Linked DNA regions of Homo sapiens: regions 1, 2 and 4 are each linked to region 3. The links are contacts of gene promoters, found by promoter capture Hi-C in blood cells and fetal thymus (Javierre and others, 2016). All regions are on one chromosome and are shown on one strand. Each heading gives the region's core, a stretch centred on a gene start or on the middle of the fragment in contact. The rest is flanking DNA. Distances are from core to core; before and after follow the strand shown. Region 1 holds the start of MARCKSL1 (MARCKS like 1). Region 2 holds the start of CCDC28B (coiled-coil domain containing 28B). Region 3 overlaps PEF1-AS1 (PEF1 and COL16A1 antisense RNA 1). Region 4 holds the start of HDAC1 (histone deacetylase 1).

Region 1 (5,955 bases), core at 3,412-5,911, 690 kb before region 3:
CTCAGCCTCCCAAAGTGCTGGAATTACAGGTGTGAGCCACCGCACCCTGCCCCTATTCCTGCCTTTTGCCTATTTTTCTTTTTTAAGACAGATTCTCATTCTGTCACCCAGGCTAGAGTGCAATGGTGCAATCTCTGCTCACTGCAACCTCTGCCTCCCGGTTTCAAGCGATTCTCCAGCCTCAGCCTCCCGAGTAGCTAGGACTACAGGCATGCGCCACCACACTCAGCTAATTTTTGTATTTTTTGATAGAGGTGGGATTTCACCGTGTTGGGCAGGCTGGTCTCAAACTCCTGGCCTCAAGCAACCTGCCCACCTCGGCCTCCCAAAGTGCTGGGATGCGCCCTGCCCCCTTTCTGCCTTTTAAAGATTCTTCCCATTGGTCTGCACTCTGTGCTTTCTCCTGCCCCTAGTCAGCTGCTGGCTTCTTCCCAGAGCCCTCTCCTGCTGCTGCCCACCAATGCAGTGCTCCTGCCACCCAGGCATCTCCTGGGCGTCTGATGCACGACTTGGCTGCCGTTACCCTCTTATTGGCAACAATCAGAGGCCTAGATTTCCAGGGGTCAGTCCTGACTTAAAAACCTTCTGTCTGTTGTCCCTGTAAAGTCACTAGCCAGCCTTTAGGAACAGCCTTTGGCTCAGGAAATGTGATCACATGTCTATGTGAAGTATACAGACTTCAGGCTGCCTTCTGCGCATCCCCCTGAATCTTCCTTGGACATCGCAAACGCAACAGGGCTAGATTCAGCAACTCCCTCCCATGTTCTTTTTCCCTTTGATGGCCTATCTCAGTTGACAGGTCCACTTCACCCACTGTCACCCCAAACAGAAAGGTGGGCAGCATCAGTATCTGGTCCCTGCACGCAGCCAGTTACCAAATCCTAGAGATCCCACCTCCCAAACCTTGCTCCAGCAAAGGCCTCTGCCTCCCTCTGCACCCTCACACCTACCATTCCTGTTCCCACTTTGTCTTGCTCTGAGCTCTTCTCCATGTTCTTCTTCCTCCAGGCAGCCCACAGTTCCTTCATCTAATGCTAGGTCTGGCTTTCTTCTCCCTAAGATATGGCCTGTCTCTTTTCTCCCTCCCGTCATGGGAAACCCCTGAGGGCTGGGACCCTGCCTGACTCACTACTTACTCTTAGACGTCTAAGTGTGAGCAGAAAGAGGAACTCCAGTCAGTATCTGCAACTATGAATCACAGAGCCCAACCTCTCACTGTACAGATGAGCCAACTGAGGCCAAAGAGGAGAGAGGACTGGCTGATGGTGACAGCAAGAAGTGCCCAACCTGGGGCAAGAACCGAGGTCTCCAGGTCCAGCTGATGCTCCCCAGAAGGAGATGGGGACTGGGGCTGTGCCAAGTAGCTGTTCCCTAGGGCCTCCGTTGGGACCTCTGATGATGTGTCTTCCCATCTCAAGGCCTTTACATATGCCAGTCCCTCCGCTAGGAAGGCCCATGCCTCCATCTCTGACTACATATTGCCCATTCACACCTCCCCTGGCATCTAATCCAGTCCTCAACACAAGGCTCCGGGGCCTGACAGACCTTAAAGTATCCCCCAACCTCCTTCATGGGGCATTGGTTTCTGCTGCCCCCTCCCATCTTCACCCCTGCCCTGCGTCTCTCCAGAGGCCCCAGGTTGCCTGCCAGGGAAATTCATCCCCTGCTGTCCGTGCCTGATTCATGGTGGGGCCGGGAGCATCTCAGGCCAGGGCCAGGGCCAGAGCCCTTACTAGGAGAACTGGGACAGATGAGGAGTTGTATGAACGTGGGGTCTCTGGTCTCTGCACCTTCCATTCCCCCATCCATCCCAGCGTCACCCTGTCCTCATTCCTCCTTTCCCTGTCACTCCATCCTGGCAAACGCCCACATCTCAAAGGTTCTAACCACCACAGCCACAGCCTCAGTGACACACTGAGGCACACACAGCTCCCCACCGCCACAGGAACACTCACCCAGACATAAAGGAGCCGCTCTTTGCTCCACACATTCAGATATTCCCGAACTCTGGGCTTAAGCAGTCTTCCCGCCCCAGCCTCCCAAAGCACCGGGATGACAGGCGAGAAGCCACCACGCCCGGCCCATCGATATTCTCTCATACAGCCACACACTCAGTTTCACACCCAGTCAGACACAGTCACCAACAGTCTCAAGGAAGGGCAGGCACAAACCCAGCAAGTCTCAGTTACCAGGATCACCAGGCTCTCTCCTTCACCCTTGAATATACAGGGCCAAACAAAGATCCAGACGCACGCAACCACAAATGTGCACACCTGGGCACACGCGCACACACACACACAGCCAGAAAGTCTCACACACACAGACACAGAGCAATACACACAGTCACACACAGAGAGAAACAGATACACGCAGTTGCACACTGGCTCCCGGAGACGCAGAACAATGGGCGCATTGTCTGGGTTGGCAGCAGCTGGGGAGGAAGGAGCTGCAGTGTGGACCGAGGAGGCCATGGGGCTGCTGTAACCTCCCACCCCCACCCTGAAGCATCCTAAACCTCTTGCCTCTTCCAGAAGTCAGATTCTGCTGGGACCTGGATTTGCTGAGGGATCAGGCTCCCAGGCGCCCCCTCCCCAGCCTCCTGGGATGTCTGGTGGGGATACAGGGCATCCCCTGGGGACCAGGCTCCCTCTGGGGCTCTGGGGACTTGGGGTCTTTTACCCTGATGCTCTTCGATGCCCCTCCTGGGATCCTTGGGAAGATTTGCCTCTCATCCCCGCCAGGCAGTGCCTGGGGATCAGAAGCCTTAGGTTCTGCTCTTAACCTCTGACCCCAACCCGTGCAAGACTCACACACCCTCCGTCCCTCTGAGCCCAGCCAGCTGGTGCGGGCAGCGCCTGGCAGCATTGTGGGTTCCCTATTGTGGCTGAGACAGAGAGCAGGTCATGACATCCTTCCCTTAGTGGCAAGCTGTGGAGAAGTCACGGTACTTTCAGTGAGCTGCAGTGGGGGCACAGTGCCTCTCCCCGTCCCAAAGCTAGCCCTTGCCTCCCACTCTGACCAGGCAGCCCCAGATCTCAACAGAAAATTCTGCCAGGGGATTCCTTACAGCCCTTGGCCCATGTTATCAAACCTCTCCAAGCCTTTTCTCACCCTCAGCTACTGGTAGCTGCTGTGTGCCCTTGGGCATGTCACTTTCTCTTCCTGAACCTCAGGGTCCCAGTCTGTGAAATGGGGCGGGGGTGGGGGGCAAGTGAAGCTGAGATAGCTGAGGGTATTCTGTAGTCTCAGGGTGGGGGTGGGGATGGAGGATACAGGAGTGAGTGCAGAATGCAGAAGCCACCTCAGCCCTCCCCGCCCCTCTGTGGTCAGATCTCTGGGGAGTTCCCAATTTCTCAGGCCCTGGGGTGTCTCCACACTTCACAGCCTCAGGCCTCCCAGGAGGCTTCACCGTAGGAGGGAGGGGAGGGACTTGCTGAGCTGGCTGGGACACAGCCTTGCATTTGCAACACTTTGCTTCCTTCCAGCCCCCATCCCTTTCCTCCTGGGGGCTGAGGGCTGGCAGCCGGACACAGACATCCGGGGCCGGCCAGGATTCTGGGGTTCCCACCAGCCTATCCAGGCCAGCAGAAGGAGAGGTGGCAGAGGACCAAAGCTAGGGAGTCTCCAGCCCGGAGCACCTCCGGGCTCCCTTGCTCTCAGGCAGGGTGGGAAGCTGGGCTGGGCAGCTTTGAGGGCTGTCCTCAAGGGGCTGTCCCTTGAAGGGACCCTTGGTAGCATCCTATCCCTCCCCTTCAGAAACTGGGGTGTTTTGAGGTTTGTTGAGTCCCCAGCTGGGGTTCCTCTGCCGGCCTGGGGCACCCTGATGTAGGGGAGCAGAGTTGTGTGTGGAGGTAAAGAGGAAGGACCAGAGCCAAGTCAGACAGGTTGTCAATGCCTCTGAGCCTTGGCCTTTCAATGGGGATGGAGATGCCCTTCAAGGTCACAAAGTCCCCCACGTGGGACTTTGCAGTGGGTCCAGGCTGAGGGCAGGAGGGGCTCAAGGCGAATCTGTCTGTCCCCACTCAGAATGACTGGCCACCAAGGGACTGAAAGGAGGAATGAGGGAAAGGCCTCACTAGTCCGACCAGAGTGACCCCGAGGCAAGGCAGAGCCCTCCGCTCCCCGGCTGGCCATGGCAGGCAGGCAGGGACGTGGGTGGGACCTCTGACCGCTCTCCAGGCCGGAGCGGGTGCCGAGCCCAGCGCAGGGGCCCTGCAGCTTCTATGACCACATTTCTAGAGTATAATTCAGGACCAGCCATCTGACGAGCCTGGTCGTGTGAGCCCTTCGAAGGGTTCAAGCGGGAGACTGCCAGCGGCTGCAGGACCAAGGCGTTGGGGGCCGCTCCAGGCTGCGGGGGCGCCCACCGGAGAGGTGGAGCGGAGAGGATGGAATGACTGCCCGTCTCCTTCCTCCAGGCCCCCCGCCCCGCCCCGCCCAGCTCGCGGGAGGACTGGCCTCGCTCCTGCCCACACCGGACTCTACCTGCCCCTGGGATTCGGGTGGGGTGGGGGGTACCCGACCGCCAGCGTCGCCTGCTGCGCAAGTGGGGCCTGCGAGCCAACCCCGCCTCCGCCCCTCGATTGGGCGCGCATTTAAATGTCCGGCCCCGCCCCGAGCTCCGGGCGCTTATATATAGGCAGCTCGGCGGGCGGCGGGCGGCATTCTGGCGCGGAGCGGAGCGGCGGCGGGCGCAGCTAGCGGGTCGGCCGCGGAGCGGAGGTGCAGCTCGGCTTCCCCCGGCACCCCTCCCCCTCGGGCGCCAGCCCCACCCCTCCGCCGGCCGGGCCGACCCCGCCGTACTATCCCCTGCGGCGCGAGCCCGGGGCGGCTCCAAGCGCCCCCCAGCAGACCCCCATCATGGGCAGCCAGAGCTCCAAGGCTCCCCGGGGCGACGTGACCGCCGAGGAGGCAGCAGGCGCTTCCCCCGCGAAGGCCAACGGCCAGGTGGGTACGCTTGGCCCGGCCGGCCCCAGCCCCTCCTCTCGCACCTCGCCCCTTCTAGGGCCCGGGGCCGGGGCCGGGGCCGCGCGCTTTGTCCGGCCCGGGACACGCGGCGCCCCCTCCCCCGCCCGGTCCCTTTGTTCTCGGCGCCGCAGCCCCCGCGGGCGAAGCGAGGGGAGGGGCGGGGAGGGGGCGCCGGCCGGGCCCTGCCGCCTTCTTTGTTCGCGGCCCCGGTCCCCGGCGCTGCCCCCCGGCCGCCCCGAGTGCCGCGCGGGGAACAAAGGCGCTGCTGGGCCACGCCAAGGGGGCGCCCAGGGGCCGCGGAGCTGGGGCCCGGCGGGGAGCGCACTCCACCCGCCGACCCGACCTCGGTGGCCCACGGTCTTTTTTTTTTTAAGGGGGAGCCGAGATGCGGGAGAGCCTGGGGTGGGTGGGGGCCACTTACACAAAGCGGGAGGCTGGGAAAATAGGCCGTCCAGGTGCAGAGAGACAGCGCCCCGGGGCGGCTTCCCGCCCAATGTCGCCTAGAGCGGCTCGCCCGCCTGCCCGGGATCCGCACAGCAGATCCGGAGCGGTTCCGCGCGGAATAGAGAGCGCGCCCCGGGGGACGGGGGTGGGGGCCACGGGACCCCAGCGCCTCCTGCCGGTCGCGCCCTCTGCGCGCTCGCTCCCCGCGCGCCCGTGAGGGGCGAGAGGGAGGTGTTTGACGGGATCCTGGGTGTGGGTGAGGCTGAAGCCAGACTTTCGGGTTGCAGTAGAATCGAATCGAGGACCCCTTCCTCTAGAAGGGATCAGAAGCGGGCTGGGGGAGGGGGAGCCCCTGCCCTCATTGCTATTCCCTCTGCCCTGCAGGAGAATGGCCACGTGAAAAGCAATGGAGACTTATCCCCCAAGGGTGAAGGGGAGTCGCCCCCTGTGAACGGAACAGATGAGGCAGCCGGGGCCACTGGCGATGCCATCGAGCCAGCACCCCCTAGCCAGGGTGCTGAGGCCAAGGGGGAGGTCCCCCCC
Region 2 (5,977 bases), core at 521-3,020, 550 kb before region 3:
GAACATTCACTTTCTTGCAGAGTTGCTCACTCCCTCCTCTGAGGCGAATCCTCACGCTATGTGATCCCAGTGACCCACCTGGCCTTTTTGCCACACAGTTGAGGGTAGGGACTGGGTCTGAGTGAGCTCTGAGTTCTCAGGGGTCTGCTCCAGAAAGGCATCAATTATTGCTTAGGAACTAAAGGCGGAGGCCCCCCTTGCCTTCCTCTCTACAGTGCAACCCAGAGTTGGGGTCCCTCCTCCTTTCCTTCCCTTCTGTACCCACCTCTTGAACTTGGCCCGCTGCTTGGGGGATGGCAGATGAGGAAGTCCTAGGGCCAAGGAGCCGCTGTGGCTGGTAGGCACAGGGACCCTCCGTAGTGTGCCTGGGGCCTGGGCTGGCTGGGCCAGGCAGGGCTTGGGACTCCGTTTCTTCTTTTTGTCATCCATTGGGCGCTGGCTGGGCCTCAGGCCTAGGAGGGAAGCAACCCCACAAAGATAGCCAGGGGCAAAGTTAGCCCTTCACCCAGAAATCCCTGAGAGCTGCACCAAGGAAGGGCCCTGGGACCTTCCAGCTTGTCACCTCATCTATACGGTAGGGGCAGAGCCAGATGCCAGTGTCTGCTGCTGGGATCGTGGATGTACACTTGAAGGACCTTCTAAGGCCCAACCTAATTCCCCTTCTGCCTGAAAACCTAGGCCCCTCCTGAAAGGGTGGGACCAGTCACAACTATCTTGGCGCTACTGGGGCTTCCTGTCACGGTGGCTGGGGGGCGGGGCTGGCAGAGGAAATGTAGTGGGAGACAAGACGGAGGTGAGCTGCAGAAGCCCAGCCGAAGATTAGGGATGTCTTAACTAAACCCTATTCTATTTATCAGGGGCCTAAGCAGATGCTAACAAACCCTGTCAGCATGGGAGGGGGACAAGGTGCAGGTAGGGGCGCCTGGGAAAGCCCCAGCGTGTGGGTAATTGTAGGAGAAGCCGCAGCATACAGGGCAGGGTTCATTGTGGGTTTCCCCCACATAGACACCGGCATCCCTCCACTTCCACCCACCCCCAACCGAAAATATTAGGGACTCCCTATAGGTCCCGCGGGTGTGCTTTCAGCTGCTTCATTTTTCCCAGTCGGAAAGTCCCTGCTGGGCTTCAGCTGCAGCCAGGGTGGACTGGGTGGTTGGCCGCTGGCTGCCTGGGCCTCCGACAAAGGCTGCGCCTGTGGCTGGGCTGCTCCGAGGTCCCCGGTCCAGCAGCGCCCCCCAAGCCTCCGGTCGGCTGGGGTTCCCTCCTCTGGGGGTCTCATTCCAGGCTGCTGCTACCGAGCCTAACTTCGAATTCTGGGACTGGGGGGGTTGGGGGGGTGGGTGGCGCTTAAGCATTTACACTGACACATAGCTGGCTGCCACTGACGGGGTCTGCGGGTGTGGGGAGGGGAGATAGGAGCGCATCCTCTGCCTCTCCGTGCAGCAGCTTGACCCAATTAGGGACCTGATAGAAGAACTGGAGCCGGAGCCTGTGCTCCCCAGGAGCGGCTGGGGCGACCGGGGATCTATTTCCCAAGCCCGGGCTCCAAAGCCATGTGCCAAACTCATCGCTCAGCTCCGCAGCCGCGCTCGAAGACAGAGCGTCAGACCCGCGTCATTCCGCCCCCGCCCTCACTCCCTCAGGGGGCTACTGACCTGGAGGTTTGGGGTCTCGAGTGATGCTTCGGTGCAAGTTCCCTCCGCCCTCCGCCCTCTCCTCCCGGGAACACCACCGGGTGAAAGCTAAGCTGGAGGGAGTTCATTTGCATTTAAAGAGAAAGTGACCTTCTCCTTAGCGCGGTGGGGTGAGATGGGAGGAGCATCCCCGCGTATGCTAAGCAGTTCCTCTCACTCGACCTCACCTCCCCGCCTGAACCTAGGGGACCCTGTTGGTTGTGTGATGTCTATTTTAAAAAGATTTTCCCTTTCCCGGCAGTTTCAGAGAGAAGCTACAGTTCCTTACAAAATGGTGGTGGCTTTGTCAGAAAGGGGGTGGGGCGGGGGAGAGGAGAGACAGAGTGAGTGAGTGAGAGAGAGAGAATGTAAGCACAGAAGAAGCACAAGCAGCAACAGCAGCAGCATCAGGAAGACACTTCGAGCAAAGACAGCCATCAATGGAGTGAGTCCAGTGCCCTATTGAGCACTTTACATACATTTCATCCCCATAACAACCCTTAAGGAAGATACCAGTGTCATTCCCCATTCTACTGAAAGTAAGCAACAGTCTTTTGAGGGCAAAACCCCTCTCTCTACAATGCCAGACAGTTTTCTCTGGTAAGTGGTGGGGGCTGTATTTTGCCGCAGATGAAGTGACAGGAGTCCTCCCCACCCCCCAGGCCTAGGAGACAGGTGTGGGGAGCACCAGGTCATAAGGTAGACCACGCGATTCCCTGGCACCTGACTCCAGTCCTCAGGGAAACCTGAGCACCTGATGGAGGCTGACCCAGTGTGACTGCTGCTGCCTGCAGCCAGATCAATGGGGGCAGCTATTTAAAGCCCTGGCAGAGGCTCCTGGCGCAGGTCCCCAGAACAGCATCTGATACAACAGGAGAGAGGCTCATGTTTGGCCAGGCGGCTCAGCAGGCTCAAGTGAGCTGGCCCAGGGCAGTGCACACAGCCACCCAGCCCACCTTCCCCATCCCCGGGCAGGAGTGGCTTCCTGGGGTTGGGCCTCTTGGCTGATGTGGGGAGCCATGGGCACTGCTCCTGAGGGCACCTGCTCAGGGCTTCTTCCTGGGTACTTCCAACACTCAGAACACTCCACAAGGGTAAAGAGTAATTCCGAACTTTTTCAATAACCAGGGGCCCAGACTGGGGACAACAGAAATCCCTCTCCTTCCCCACCGGAGCTGCTAGAGTAGACAGTGGTAATGCTGCTGACAGAGGGAGCACCCCTGTGGTTCCCATCCTCAGCTGCTTCACTGGGGGGTCAGAAACCTCATTATTCTCAGAGCTGCTTTGCTTGGAATCTCCAAGAGTTGGGGCGGCACCCCCCCCACACCCTCCAGAGGATCTGCGACTAGAAATAACATGGCCAGCATGGAAAACATGTATCAGGACCCAGCTAGAAGGGTCAGAGGCTCTGCTGGGACTGTCACAGTCATTGTGGGCACATCTATTTGTGGAGGCCTGGAGGGAAGGGCAGGTGGGTTGTCTCTGCCATTTCCTGGGCATTCAGCACATATCATCCTTTGTGCCTGACCAACCCAGGACCCAGAGAGAACAGGGTGCTGGGTGAGGCCACCAGCAGCATGTCTCCCATATAGGAGTCCCATGCTTGAGGTGGGTAAATGGGGGGTGTAAAAACTGAACAGAGAATGTGCTCTCCTTAAGGAATGCATACAATTAGAGGCCCCTGTGAATTCCCTTGGGCAGGCCAGGGCTATAGGAGCCTACCCACAGCTCAGACCCAAATAGCAGTGATGAGTGTCCACCCCTCTTAACCTGGGCCTCAAATGGCCTATGCCTGGCTCCATGCCTTTTGCCTTACTGCTGGAGCCTATCAATTTCCTATTGAAACACCTTCAGTTGCCCCCCCTGCCCTCTGGATCTAGCCCACATTCCTTAACCTGGTACCCAGACTCTGGGCCCAGCCTCACCCCCTCTCCCAGTCCCATGGACCTGCTTCCCAGCTGTACCATTTAATCACTAAATGACGTTCATCTTCTACCTGCCCTGTGGTTCAGAAGGCCATTCCAGGTATCACCCCCTCACCTTGCTGAAGGGGGCAGGGGCCTCCTCTCTGCTCTCAGCACCATTGACCTGTCTATAGCTAAAAGTACCTTTTCCCTTCACTAGCCTGTGAGCCCCCAGGTCAGGGAAAACTTTTTTGTGTGTGTGTGATCCTCTCTGAGGCAAGGGTCTTGCCAACTTTGCCAAGGGCTCCACTCAGGCAGCTCAAGTGAATATGCCAGCATCCTGAGGCTGTGGCGACTGCTCAAAGACACTGTGGAATATGTAAGATACCAGGGAACCACCATGGGCGCTCTGCAGCAGACCTGAACAAGTCAGTGATGATGGAAGGGGCTGAATGGATCAGATCCAGAAACAAAGGAATACACAGGTCAGGAGAGAAACAAGTAAGGCAACAGACTCTTTATTTAATGTGGTTTAAAATACATCAAAATCAAGTCCCTGGCTGTTGTGAATACCCAAAGGAGACAAAAAAGCTGCCAGTGCAGCTTCAAACAAGTCTGAGTGGCCGGGCTGGGCCATAAGGAAAGCAGTTACAGGGACAGAAGGCAGCTCCCTTCCCCCAGGAAGGGCAAGAGGAGCAGGTGCCTGGCTGTCCCTGGGGTGACCACCTCTGTGCTGTGCAAGGCGGAAAGGCTGGGGCAGCAGCTGGAGAATCAGCTCAGCAGGCCTTGGCCCTCCCCCGTGGACACCAGGCAGCTCCACTGGCCTCCGGGTCAGCCCTCAGGGCCACCGTGATGGGGTGGAGGAGGGTTAAATAACCATCTTTACAGAAATAACAGTCTCCTACAGAAAGTGCCTGAGCTCAGCCCATGGTCCGATAACCTCATGGAAAACAAACAACAAATAAAAAAAAAAAGTGCTGCTGACACCTCTCAGAATCTGGTGGACATGAAGCTCTCAGCTGGACAAGGCCCTGAAAACAATTTACTATTAGCAGAGCCATGCGCTCTTGAGCTTCACCTGCTGTGGTCCCCTGGAGGAAAAGCTAGCAATCTAAGAAACCAACACAGATCTTGGTCCTAAAACTGAGGTCACAAGTGTGGGACCCACCCAGGTGAGGAAGACACTGGCCTTCACTCATGGATAGGCACCTCCCCTGCATCTGGCCCAGGACCTGGGCTACTTTGGAAAGCAGAAGCAGAGCAGCTGTAGTGATTGGTTGATTTGGTCAATGAAGAGAAGAAAAAGGTAGGGAACCTCATCTGCAGACTGGCCTGAAGGTCTAGACATGGATGGAGCTGTGAGCAAAGGCTGCACCTTGCCTGGGGCCCACATTCCTGACCTGGGAAACCCAGCTGGGGCCACCTGCTCACTGTGGCCTCCTACACCACCACACTGGGATCCAGCAGCTCCAGTCCCTCCACAGGCATTAAGAGGTAGCTGAAGTGTGAGTCAGGCAATTATGTGGGCCACTGTAGGCCTTTCCCCTCTCTTCAAGGGGGAAGGTGCATACCTCTGCCTCTTCCCTGCACCTCTCTCGCCTAGCAAACACTCTGTGAGGTTGGCAGCTCTTGTACCAGCTTAGCCTGGCACAGGGGCTGGGGTAGGGAAAAGGCCCTACTGGAGCAGGAAGAGGCAAGGACTACTCCAGACAGAGGGATTCAAAGGGGAAGAAAAAGGTCATGGGAAACACTTCACAGGACAGCAGTATCTCAGCCAGAGATGGCAGAGATCTCAACACTCACACAGCTGCTTGAGGGCACCTAGATGTGAAGGATACACCAGAGAATAGCAGGCAACTCTGATGCAGATCAGTGGTACCTGCCCTGGGGCAGGAGAAGGAGAAATGGTGTGCCATTCATTTGCCATCTCTGGTCTCAGTCACACATGATTCAGTACTTAACATTCTTTGTGAACCAACTTATCTGAGAGATTTAAGGTAAGGGCTAAAAGAGTGGGCTAGGTATGGAAGATGAAGGGACCTGCAGGACAATGAACTAGCTTCAAAGAAAAACAGCAAGAAGCAAAGCCCTAACCATCCTATCCATCTTGGTCTGAGTCATTCTGTTGTCCCAGAAAACTGCTTGGCACAAACACTGGCTAATACCCTGGCAAGTTTGCAACAGCAGAACATTCAGCATATAGAATGGCTCTACACAGTACATAGTAGTTATGTACTGGAGTGGGGGTAGAACAGGACACAGAAACAACTGTCTGCAGCCATTTTATGGATTTCTGGGGCCCAGTCAATAGTTCAATTTCATTTCTTACCTGTTAGACAACAGCTATGGGCTCCCACACAGGAAGAAGTAGAATCCCCAAGGACAGGCAGGGAGGTGCCA
Region 3 (6,200 bases), core at 1,491-3,990:
TTCCCTTCCAGTGGGTTCCTCTGGTGCTGCAGCCAGAGCTCCCTGTTGCCCTCCTTTTCCCGTTTAGTCCCAGGAACAAAAAAGGGCATTTTGGGTACAGGGGCATATACCTGTAATCCTAGCTATTCAAGGGGCTGAGGTGGGAGGATCGCCTGAGCCCAGGAGTTTGAGACCAGTCTAAGCAACATAATGAGACTCAGTCTCCGAAAAATAAAAATTAAAAAATAAAGGGTATTTCCCTCCTTGCCTGTGGTCAGCCAGTGGTGCTGTGAGATTCTGCTGGATGGGGGCAGCTGATGACCCTTTGCTCCTCGGGATCTTGTGCCCTGTTCTTCATGCCTACGTCTCTTGAGTTAGAGAAGGAGCATCACTCAGCCTCTTCTCTCAAGTGAACCAAAGCACGTTGGAAGGTCCCACTTCCTGCTTTAAAGGTCCCTCCCTATTTGATTCCCTAAAGAAACCCGTGTTCAGTACCCCACCCACTCTTTGCCCATCCACTTCACCTTGTCAGTGTGACCCAGAGCCGGTCCGGGTTGCACCCTGGGAAAATGCCACCCGGTGCTGAGGTGTGTTCATCTGCCTGGAAGCCCTTCCAAGCATGCAGGCACTTCTTGATGCTCCAGTAATTCTGTGATTAGAATACCTGTGCAAACAGGAGAGAAGACAGGCTCCAGCTCTGTCCTAGGCATCCAGGGAATGCTTCTCTGGGAAATGAGATGGAACCTTCTGCCTGTACCAATGCATGGTCACTAGCTCTCTATAAGTGCTTCCAGCAATGACTTTCTGGAGGGCAAATAACATCTCCTGTTTTTCTTTATTATTCTAATATACGTGGTACTTTTCCTGTACATCTTAGCCTAGGCCTTTAGAAACAGCCAGGTTGTATCAGTACAAAGAGTTCATGGGCAAGCCACGAGCAGATCTAAGCTCACGGTCCTCAAAGTCCACTGGGAGTTTGGTGATCTATCTGTTGTGTCCTTCTCCCTATGTAAAAAAGGCTAGGAAGGGGAAAAAAGACAGTGAATTGAATATTATAGAAACATTCTCTCTTGAGCTTCTTCCTTCTCTACTTTTTAGATCTCTTGTCCTGATGGGCTGGCTGCCCTGTGAGAAAGCAACAAGGCACTTCCAGGGGGATTTCCAAAGAAAGCTTTTTCACTGGCCCCAGCTATCTGGAAGGTTTATTCAAGTTGGATACACTTCAAAGGACTCACAGAGCAGGCTCAGAAATGTACCCAAAGTCTAGATGCTTATCCAAACTGCCTGAAGCCTTCAAACCGGCTGTCAAATCTCTGCAGAGCTGGTATTTCTAGCACATTTCTGAAAACTCCCTTCTCTAGTTGGGTCCCAAATACCAGGAGACCAGCCTATTGATGGCTTTTCAGAACCTTTGCCCTATTTTTTTTTTTCCTGCCAGGAGCAAAGGTGTGCTGGTGGCCAGAAGAATGAAATCAGACTCCTGAGCATGCCCGAGTGTCTCATGTGATGTTTTTAGATAAAGGAGGCGCTGATTCTTTTTTCATCCCTCCCCAGCTATTCTCAGTTAACCCTGGTTCTAACATAAAACATTAAAAAGCAAAGGCATCATTTTTGTACTGAAGTAGCAGCCAGGTTTTGGACAGTGGAAGAGGACAGATGTTAAAGCACTCCCATTGGAAGGCCAGCTTCCTCTTTCAGCCTAGTCTGCCGAGTACTAGCTGATGATAGGCCTTCTCATGAGGAGCATGTTGGCGCTGGCAGAAAGAAAGAGACGCAAGGACCAGCTGTGGAATTGAGCAGGTTGGCTTTGAAGGCCAGAGGGGAAAAACTGCTATGAGGAAACATCCAACTCATCCCCTTTAAGGGTCACCAGGGAATTGATCCTTATAGAGTAAATGATGCCTTCTTCACTTTTCTTCCTGAGTCAAATTCATGCTACTCTTAAGGGATTCTACGACAGGCTAGGTTTAAGCTTTCATGATTTGAATGCATGTCTCCCCGGAGTTTGAAATTGCTGTATTTTCTTGGACCATGAAGAACCAGATGGAAAGCTGAATTTTATAGTCTCTTCTGTTACTGTGGTCAGCAAGAAATCCATGGATCTTGCTCATCAGTTCAGGAGCTGGGTAAGCTGAAGAGAAAGCAAGGAGGGGCATGTGTCGTCCATTCCTCTTAGGCAGCTTTTGCACGTTCCAACCCCATTATCCTTCTGTCTTCATTTCTTAACCTACTCCAGGCTTTCCAGGCAGCACACAGATCATTCAGATTGGAAAAGTCTAACTTGATGAGTCCATTCCTCTTCCTACTTTGTCCCAGGGACTGTACTAGGCTCTGGGGATCCCAAGGCAAACTAGACAGATATGGTCCCTGCTCCCACAGCATCCACAGGGAGAGCAGACAGTTAAACAAGCACCTACAATAAAGTGGGATGATAGGGCAGTGCCAGGTACAGGGGAGTGCACAGCTGGGGAACCTAACCATGTCTAGACGAAGAGATGGATTCAGGCAGAGGGAACAGCACGTGCCAAGGCCCAGAAATGACTGGTTGCAGCAGGCTGAGTGACGGGAGACAGGACAGTGTGATTGGATTTTGGAGCATGAGCAGGGAAGACAGTTGGAAGCCACTGGTGGGTTTCTCACAAAGGTGTGTCAAGTCAGGTTTGCCGAGTGGGGAGTTCGCTGATGGCAGTGTGAAGGATGGGACTGGAGGGTCCTTAATTTGAGAAACCCTCTGCTCAATAAGATGGAGAAAAGGCTGCTGTGTATTTATTCTGCAGAGAAAAATCTAAACTTTGATGCTTCTGGAATTTAAATCTTCATTTTTTGTCATAATATTTTCCTCTGTCACTCAAATTCAACAGAATCTAATTAGACTCTTTCTTCATCTGGGGTCTGTTAACCCCTTTACAAGACTAGTTTTTTTTTTTTTTGGAGGTGGGGGGACAGAGTCTCACTCTGTCACTCAGGCTGGAGTGCAGTGGTGCGATCTTGGCTCACTCAACCTCCACCTCCAGGGTTCGAGTGATTCTCCTGCCTCAGCCTCCGGAGTAGCTGGGACTACAGGCACAAGCCACCATGCCCAGCTAATTTTTGTATTTTTAGTAGAGACAGAGTTTCACCATGTTGGTTAGGCTGGTCTTGAACTCCTGACCTCAGGTGATCTGCCTGCCTCGGCCTCCCAAAGTGCTGGGATTATAGATGTGAGCCACCGTGCCCGGCCATGGATATTTTTTTTTTTTTTTTTTTGGTGCTGGAGATCCCAAAGGACTAGATCTTTTTTGTGGCTGTCCTGAACAGTTTATGGGAATAGACGATGTCAACGTACTCTACTTATGATCCCATAATGGAAGGGGAGTGTGGCCAAATTGCCACGTCTGCTGTTCTCATTCCTCTGTTGCTTCTGTGGAAAGTTGCAAATCATCCTCTGATCCACAGCATCCAACTGGAATTTAAATTTCAGAACTGGATCTAGTTGGAATCAAAGAGAATTAATTCCATAATAATTAGGTGGGTGTTGGTATTCCTTCTCAGTAAGCCTTACAGAAGCTTGGTGCGAGCCAAGTGGCTCCTGGGAGGCTGTGTCTCTAGGGGAGGCAATATTTTCCAGTGGATGGGCTTTTCATTACCAAGCTCTGCCTCACCCCTAATGGGTCAACCGCAGGGCTTCCACGAACTCAGGAAAGTGCTCTGTGTTCTAAAAAAAGTCTGGAATCCATGCTTTCCCCTTGGGCTACAAGTGAAACAATAACAGGAACTTCTCCACCCACCTCTGTCTGCCTCAGGTAGATGAGGTTTTGGAAGTGAGTTGATTGTTTTTCAGTCTTAGGAAGATCCTGATCTCTCTTTTATCCAGCCCCCTCCAAAACAAACATACCTGGGCCTGTGTGGGTCCTCAGAGGCACAGCCCTGGCTGTTGGCTTTGGCACGTTCCTGACTCCCTAAGAGAAGATGTGGATGCTCCATCCACGAAATAGCACAGACCTCCCACAGATAGTTCTCCTAAGCCCTTTGCTGGGCATAGGGGAATGGGGGCAAATAATTCTCATAGGAGTTGGATTCTCATCACCTAGAACAGAGCCTGGCAAGAGGTGGGAACCCAATGGGATCATATGTTTGTGGAATAAATGAGTGTGTGTCACATGACTCCAGTTTGCAGGCCAGCTTGTCACTGTTCTCTCTCCAGGCAAATACCCACTTGACCTTCAACCTTCTTCCCTTCTGAAGTTTTGCAGCTCAATTCCACCAATATTTTTTGAACTGGGGGGTTAGGAAGGTAAAGAAGACACAATCTACTAACTATTAAATACTGAGTAGTTAAAAAAAATGCAGACCTGGGATCAAGTCCTACTTCTCCATTTATCTTTTTTTTTTTTTTTTTTTTTCCCCAGACAGAGTCTCTCTGTTGCCCAGGCTGGAGTGCAGTGGTGCAAACACAGCTCATTGCAGCCTTGACCTCCTGGGCTCAAGCAATCCTCCCACCTTGGCCTCTGGAGTGGCTGGGACTCCAGACACATGCCACCATGCCTGGCTAATTTTTTAAAACTATTTTTTGTAGCGATAGGGTCTCACTATGTTGTCCAGGCTGGTTTCGAACTCCTAGGCTTAAGCGGTCCTCCTCCCTGCCTCCCAAAGTGTTGGGATTATAGGCGCGAGTCACTGCGCCTGGGCTCCATTTATCTTTTTGATAACAGGAAGGTCACTTAACCTCTCTGAGCCTCAGCTCCTCATTATAAATGGGTAATAGTCTCTATCTCAAAAGACTGTGGTGAAAATTAAACAACACATAGTACTTAGCACAACGTCTGGCACCTAGTAAGCACTCAATACATGATAATAATAACTACTAACATTGAATTCATGCTAGGCACTATTCTAGGTGCTGAGGTTAGAGGACTACATAAGAAAATGACAATTCTACAATATACATGTAAACAAAGTGGACAATTCAACTAGTGACATGTATTATGAAAAAATAAGATAGATGATGGGAATGCTTGGGGGGCAGTGTCAAGAAACTCCCCCCACCCCAGGTGATATCTGAACTGAGACCTGGATGATAAGGAGAAGCCAACCAGTGAAAAGTCAAGGGAAGACTATCCCAGACAGAGGGAAAAGCTAGTCCAAAGACCTGGAGGCAGGAATGAGCAGGCAGTCAGAGACCAGCCAAAGCCAACATCCAGGAATGAGCTCTGTACATTCCAGGAATGGCACAACCAGGCCGGCATGGCTGGAATGAGGCAAGGGGGACAGCAACAGCAAGAAATGAGGCTGGAGATGCTGGTATGTGTGGCCATGAATGTCATTAGGATGAGTTTAGCTTTTATTATAAGAGTGATGGGAAGTCCCCAGGGAGTTGAAGCCAAGGAATAAGATAACCACTCTGGCTGCCTGTGGAGAAAATGAAGCGTGGGGAGAAGAGTGAGAGCAGGAACATTGGTCAGTCGGCTATTGTAGTGATCCAGGCACGGATGATAGTGTCTTGGACTACAGTGATAGTGCGAACAGGGAGAAAAGAGCAGATGTGTACATGTTTGAATTAGAGCAAATGGAGATGAGGGAGGTGAGGGAGTGTGTGGAGAAAAAAAGGACACACAGGAATGATCTTAGGTTTTTGGCCTGAGAGACTGGGTGGATTTTCTGAGATGGAGAGGAATGGGTTTTGGGGAAAACACCAAAAGAAAACTCTTATACAAGGCAGGCTGGAATACCACACAGTGACAGTACCAAGTGCAAAGGGGGAGTGGCAAGAGAGAGTGGCTAACTCTGGAGCTAAGGGGAATGTGGGAGGGTTAGGTGGAGAATGGAATTGGAACTGAGCCTTGCAGGACTGGAGTTGGGAGGGCTGCTGGTCCAGGTGAAAGGAGTGGTTTGAACCTAAGTTTGGGGCATGAGCAGGTATAATAAGCTCATTTTCAAATTTACACATTTGTTCCTGTCAGCTAAGAAAAGTGAAATTTAGAGAGGTTAAATAACTTGCCTAAATAAAATGTGGTAGATATACACTGTGGAATACTATGCAGCCATAAAAAAGGAACAAGATCATGTCCTTTGCAGGGACGTGGATGGAATTGGAAGCCATTATCCTCAGCAAACTAACAGAGAAACAGAAAACCAAACACCGCATGTTACCACTTATAAGTGGGAGCTGAATGAGGAGAGCACATACACCACTGGGGTCTGTCGGAGCGTAGAGGGAGGTGGGAAGAGGGAGAGCATCAGGA
Region 4 (5,808 bases), core at 2,093-4,592, 640 kb before region 3:
CATTTATGTTCTTTTTTTTTTTTTGACACAAGGTCTCACTCTGTCCCCCAGGCTGGAGTGCACTGGTGCGATCATGGCTCACTGCAGAGTCGACCTCCCAGGATCAAGTGATCCTCCCACTTCAGCCTCTCTACAGGCACATGCCATCATGCCCAGCTAATTTTTTTACTTTTTGTAGAGACAGAGTCTCCCTAAGTTGCCCAGGCTGGTCTCAAACTCCTGGGCTCAAGAGAACCATCCGCCCCAGCCTACCAAAGTACTGGGATTATAGGCGTGAGCCACCACATTCAGCAATTTCTGTTCTTTATAAACAGTGTTCTGTTATAGCAGACTAAGATACTGATGACTACCAAAAAATTTCTATCTTCTAAACTGCCTACTGGATGCCTCTACTTGGATGTCCCCTAAACATCTTAACAGTTATCAATAGTTATTTCTAAACAAACAAACAACAACAACAAAAAAAACAGTGGCTTAGGCCTGTAATCCCAGCACTTTGGGAGGCCAAGGTGGCAGGATTGCTTGAGGCCAGGCACAGGAGTTCAAGACAAGCCCAGGCAACATATTGAGACCCCATCTCTAGAAGTTTAAAAAAAAAAAAAAAAAGTTGGGGCCGGGTGCGGTGGCTCACACCTGTAATCCCAGCACTTTGGGAGGCCGAGGCGGGCGGATCATGAGGTCAGGAGATCCAGACCATCCTGGCTAACACGGTGAAACCCTGTCTCTACTAAAAATACAAAAAATCAGCCCAGTGTGGTGGCGGGCGCCTGTAGTCCCAGCTACTGGAGAGGCTGAGGCAGGAGAATGGCATGGACCCGGGAGGTGGAGCTTGCAGCAGTGAGCCGAGATTGCGCCACTGCACTCCAGCCTGGGCGACAGAGCGAGACTCCATCTCAAAAAAAAAAAAAAAAAAAAGTTATCAACTGACATGGCATTCTCCAAACCTCCAAACACTCACCATCAAATTGCCCACATCAGAGGCCAGGAAGTGTGGCTCATGCCTATAATCCCAGCACTTTGGGAGGCTGAGGCAGATGGAGCACTGGAGGTCAGTTTGAGACCAGCCTGGCCAACATCGTGAAACCCCATCTCTAATAAAAATACAAAAACTAGCCAGGCATGGTGGCGCACGCCTGTAATCCCAGCTACTCAGGAGGCTGAGGCAGGAGAATCCCTTGAATCTGGGAGGTGGAGGTTGCAGTTGCAGTGAGCCGAGATCAAGCCACTGCACTCCAGCCTGGGTGACAGAGCTAGACATCATCTCAAAAAATAAAAAATACTGCCCACACCAGGAACTTGGGATCCATGCCTTCTTCCTTACCCCTACAATCTGAATTTTTTTGTTTTTTTTTTTTTTGAGACGAAGTCTCGCTCTGTTGCCCAGGACGGAGTGCAGTGGTGAGATCTCAGCCCACTGCAACCTCTGCCTCCCAGGTTCAAACAACTCTCGCACCTCAGCCTCCTGAGTAGCTGGGACTACAGGCATGTGCCACCACACCTCGCTAATTTTTTTTTTTTTTTTTGAGATGGAGTCTCACCCTGTTGCCCAGGCTGGAGTGCAGCGGTGCAATCTTGGCTCACTGCAACCTCTGCCTCCTGGGTTCAAGCGACTCTCCTGCCTCAGCCTCCTGAGTAGCTGGGATTACAGGTGCGCACCACCACACCCGGGTAATTTTTGTATTTTTAGTAGAGACAGGGTTTCACCATGTTGGTCAGGCTGGTCTTGAACTCCTGACCTCATGATCCGCCCGCCTCAGCCTCCCAAAGTGCCGGGATTACAGGCGTGAGCCACCGTGCCCAGCCTAAATTTTGTATTTTTAGTAGAGATGGGGTTTCACCGTGTTGGCCAGGCTGGTCCTGAACTCCTGGCCCCGAGTGATCTGCCTGCCTCAGCCTCCCAAAGTACTGGGATTAGAGAGGTGTGAGCCACTGCACCTGGCCCCCATTACTTTAATTTCTAAGGTATAAACCTGATGATGTCAATAACCTGCATAAAACTTGAATCACTCACAAGTGCCCTCAATAAAGTCCAACTTCCTTGGGACAGCATGCCCAGCCCTTCATGGTCCGGTCCCTATTTACATCTTTTTTTTTTTTTTTTTTTAAGACAGAGCCTCGCTCTGTTGTCCAAGCTGGAGTGCAGTGGCACGATCTCAGCTCACTGCAACCTCTGCCTCCCGGGTTCTAAGGGATTCTCCTGCCTTAGGCTCCAGAGTAGCTGGGATTACAGGCGCACACCACCATGCGCGGCTAATTTTGTATTTTTAGTAGAGACGGGGTTTCACCATGTTGGCCAGGCTGGTCTCGAACTCCTGACCTCAGGTGATCCACCAGCCTCGGCCTCCCAAAGTGCTGGGATTACAGGCGTGAGCCACCACGCCCGGCCAAATGCCTGTTTTTCAAAGGTCCTGTCCTCTCTCTTGCCTCTGAAACTTGCTGTTATCTTTGCCTTCCCTGTGCCTGGCTAAGAACTCCTGTTCTTCAGGTCCTAACTAAGATGTCCCCTCCTTCGCTGACTCCTCAGGTGGAGTTCGGTGCCTCTTCTCTGTGCTCCCCTAACACTCTGAGCTCTGACACGGAGAGAACTTCGGTCACTGGGAAGGGTGACCCGATCAACCCCACGGCCCCAGCCCCTCAACACTTCCTCGAACACAGTAACCTGCTTGAGAGATTAAGTGAGAAGTCTGTTTTAACAGGTTGCATCCTTCTCCTTGCAACCCCTGGCGCCCCACGTCGCAGTAGCAACCGCAGGCCCCGCTCAGAGGCTGGGGGAGGGGAGGCGGGCAACCAGTCGTGCAGGACTCTTCCCCCAGAAAAGATGAGGAAGGGACGGGGCAGGGAAGAGCTTTGGGTTCTCGGCAAGAAAATGTATCCTTGCAGCCGTCTCCATCAGATTCAGCCTCCCCGCTCCGACGCACCCTCCCCTCTAGGAGTCCCACTCAAACTCTCCACATCAGACTTCCTCAGAATCTTCCCATCAAGATTACCTCACGCTTCCCCCACGCGATCCCCTCTTGGTCTCAGCCTCGATCTCCCTTCCTCGCAGCCTCCTCCCTCAGCCTCGACTTCCCCCTCGCAGCCTCCTCTCCGAGCCTCTCCCCAGCGCCTCAGCCTCCCGCAGCCTCCCATCGGCGCTCCAGCCTCAGCCTCCAGGTTCCCGGTCCGGCCCGGCCTGGCCCCGCCCCCGCCGCGAGGACGGTGCTCACCGTCGTAGTAGTAACAGACTTTCCTCCGGGTGCCCTGCGTCTGCGCCATCTTGCTCGCCTCCCGTCCCTACCGTCAGTCGGTCCGTCCGCCCTCCCGCCCGCGGCTCCGCTCAGCGTCCGACCCAGGGGGGAGGGGGCGGGCCTCCGGCCCGCCCCGCCCGTCCCCTCCTGGGCTCACCTATAGCCGCGCAGCCCGGGCACCGCTCCAGCCAATCAGCTTGCGCAGACACGGGCCCGGAACTCGGCAGGGGGCAAGGGCAGCCCGGAGAGGCCGCCGAGGGCCCCCTGGGCCTGTACCAAGGTCTGCGACAGATGGGTGGGGAGCCGCCCGGGGACCGTACCATCAGTCCCGGGGGAGGAAAGCAGCTCTGTAAACTTAACAGTCCCACTTCGTCGTGAAAAGCGTGCTTGGAGATCGGAGGCCAACTTTCTGATTTTACGGAGAATAAACCGAGGCCTACAGGGGAAAAGTGACTTGCACAAGGTCACTCAGCCAATAAAAGGGCTGAACCTGGGTTAGAAAGCGAGTTTGTGGCCGCAAAGGAGGGCTACAGAAAAATAATTAAAAAGAAAAGCAACACGCGGGTTTGGAGAGGAAGAAACCGACAAGAAAGGGAAAGAAAGCTAATGTTTGTCGAGGGGCTGCTGTGTGCCAAGTACTGTGCGACACTTTACCAATGTTATTTCAGTTTTTCCTCAAAACAGCTCTCGGCCAAGGGCTTTTTACCTCCATTTTACAGGACAGGATAAAGAAGTTCAGACTTCTGTGAATTATTCAAAGTTACACAAAGTAATTAAATTCAATTTTTTAATTGTACAGGGTTTTTAAAATGCTTTCTTTGCACCAGAGGCACTGTAACAAAGTGACAGAACCCAGCCTTTCAGACTCCAAAATCTACCTCCCTGATGCAGTCACCCAGGATGACTAAGTAGGCGTCTCTTTAGACAGGAGGAAATGGGATTATCCTATGATAGGAGGGCAGGTTTCCTTTCTTTTCTTTCCCTGTTTTTTTTTTTTTTTTTTTTTTTGAGACAAGAGTTTCGCTCTAGTTGCCCAGGCTGGAGTGCAATGGTGTGATCTCGGCTCACCACAATCTCTGCCTCTGTGTTCAAGCGGTTCTCCTGCCTCAGCCTCCCGAGTAGCTGGGATTACAAGCATGTGCCACCATGCCCGGCTAATTTTGTATTTTTGGTAGAGACTGGGTTTCTCCGTGTTGGTCCAGGTGGTCTCGAACTCCTGACCTCAGGATCCGCCCACCTCGGCCTCCCAATATGCTGAGATTACGGGCGTGAGCCACAGCGCCCGGCCTAGGAGGGCAGGTTTCTCAGCCTGGTAGCTAATGACATTTTGGGCCAGGTAATGCTTTTTTGTAGGAAGCTATTCTGTGCATTAACAGCTTCTGTGAAGCTGTTCTGTGCCTGGGCAACTAGAGTGAAACTCTTGTCTCAAAAAAAAAAAAAATTAAGCAGCATCCTTAGCCTCTACCCACTAGATGCCAGTAGCACCTTCCCCCCAGGCTGTGACAACCAAAATTGTCTCTAGACATTGCCAAGTACTGTGCAATAGCTTTACCATTGGGTTGGGGGGAAGATTAGTGGGGTGTAAGGGAGTGTAAAATTGCCCCCAACTCTACCATTAAGAACCACTCCACCAGATCATCAATTATCAACTGATCATCACTGAAAGCTGAAAGACCTAAAAGTGCAATGCTGGGCTATTAAAATAACTACAATAATGTCAATATTTAATGAGTGCTTCCTGTGTGCCAAACATTGCTCTAAGTTAGCCGCCAACTTGTGGTCCTACAGTCAACAAGAGGCTGGGCACAGTGGCTCACGCCTGTAATCCCAGCACTTTGGGAGGCCAAGATGGGTGGATCACTTGAGCTCAGGAGTTCGAGACCAGCCTGGGCAACATGGCAAAACCCCATCTCTACAAAAAATAGAAAAATTACCCAGGTGTGGGGGCGCGCTCCTGTAGTTCCAGCTACTCAGGAGGCTGAGGTGGGATGATGGCTTGAGCCCAGGAGACAGATGTTGCAGTGAGCCAAGATCATGTCACCACACTCCAGCCTGGGCAATAGAGCCAGGCCTTGTCTCAAACAAAAGAAAACAACAAGATACATCTTTATGCCTCTTTAAAGAGTGTTTGGGACTTGTGTTTCTCACTCAGAAACTGCATTTGAGTCATTAATTATAAGGTAACAGAAAATCTAAGACTGGGTGGCTTATAATAGAAACAGCAAAGGGCCAGGGAACAAATTCTACTCCCAGTTCTCTGTTGCTAATTCTCAGCTAGCCCTGGGTGGGTTTACTTAACCATTCTGGGCCTCCATTTCCCTTGTTATAAAATGGGGAGGAGGCCGGGCACAGTGACTCATGCCTGTAATCCTAACAATTTGGAAGGCTGAGGTGGGCAAATCACCTGAGGTCAGGAGTTCGAGACCAGCCTGCCCAGCACGGTGAAACCCCGTCTCTATTAAAAATGCAAAAATTAGCTGGGCGTGGTGGTGTGTGCCTGTAGGTCCCAGCTACTTAGGAGGCTGAGGCAGGAGATTCGCTTGAAACCGGGAGGTGGAGGTTGCAGTGAGCCGAGATCAGG

Evidence for each region. The method cuts DNA at HindIII sites, captures the fragments that hold promoters and counts their contacts. A CHiCAGO score of 5 or more calls a contact.
Region 1: a contact is called between the fragment with the promoter of MARCKSL1 here and a fragment that was not itself captured in region 3, in 1 of 17 cell types (neutrophils). The highest score is 6.4, in neutrophils.
Region 2: a contact is called between the fragment with the promoter of CCDC28B here and a fragment that was not itself captured in region 3, in 1 of 17 cell types (fetal thymus). The highest score is 5.4, in fetal thymus.
Region 4: the fragment with the promoter of HDAC1 here is called in contact with a fragment that was not itself captured in region 3 in 1 of 17 cell types (neutrophils); the score reaches 5.0 in neutrophils.

What each region holds. Positions count from the first base shown.
Region 1 is chr1:32,334,939-32,340,893 of GRCh38, reverse strand. It overlaps MARCKSL1 (MARCKS like 1), which reads left to right and starts at 4,661. Exons shown (of 2, transcript NM_023009.7): 1 at 4,661-4,947; 2 at 5,797-5,955. The coding sequence starts at 4,861. It overlaps LOC124903949 (a long non-coding RNA gene), which reads right to left and starts at 5,517. Exons shown (of 2, transcript XR_007065661.1): 1 at 5,390-5,517. RefSeq lists silencers at 3,288-3,416, 4,350-4,879, 4,900-5,049, 5,180-5,259, 5,400-5,839 and enhancers at 4,080-4,169, 4,439-5,008. The HindIII fragment of the contact is 20,076 bases long and covers 1-5,955 here.
Region 2 is chr1:32,196,388-32,202,364 of GRCh38, reverse strand. It overlaps CCDC28B (coiled-coil domain containing 28B), which reads right to left and starts at 1,770. Exons shown (of 6, transcript NM_024296.5): 1 at 1,656-1,770; 2 at 266-452. The coding sequence starts at 429. It overlaps TXLNA (taxilin alpha), which reads right to left. Exons shown (of 11, transcript NM_175852.4): 11 at 4,080-5,977. RefSeq lists enhancers at 404-924, 793-1,012, 925-1,444, 1,703-1,782, 1,995-2,552 and 2 more. The HindIII fragment of the contact is 8,664 bases long and covers 1-5,977 here.
Region 3 is chr1:31,646,292-31,652,491 of GRCh38, reverse strand. PEF1-AS1 (PEF1 and COL16A1 antisense RNA 1) reads right to left here. Exons shown (of 6, transcript NR_184313.1): 3 at 504-643. COL16A1 (collagen type XVI alpha 1 chain) reads left to right here. Exons shown (of 71, transcript NM_001856.4): 71 at 1-229. Among named protein-coding and RNA genes, the nearest start is that of PEF1, 4.5 kb to the right of the region's middle. The HindIII fragment of the contact is 1,574 bases long and covers 1,954-3,527 here.
Region 4 is chr1:32,289,617-32,295,424 of GRCh38, reverse strand. HDAC1 (histone deacetylase 1) reads right to left here and starts at 3,342. Exons shown (of 14, transcript NM_004964.3): 1 at 3,207-3,342. The coding sequence starts at 3,255. RefSeq lists enhancers at 1,903-2,477, 2,549-2,608 and a silencer at 3,219-3,628. The HindIII fragment of the contact is 8,638 bases long and covers 1-5,808 here.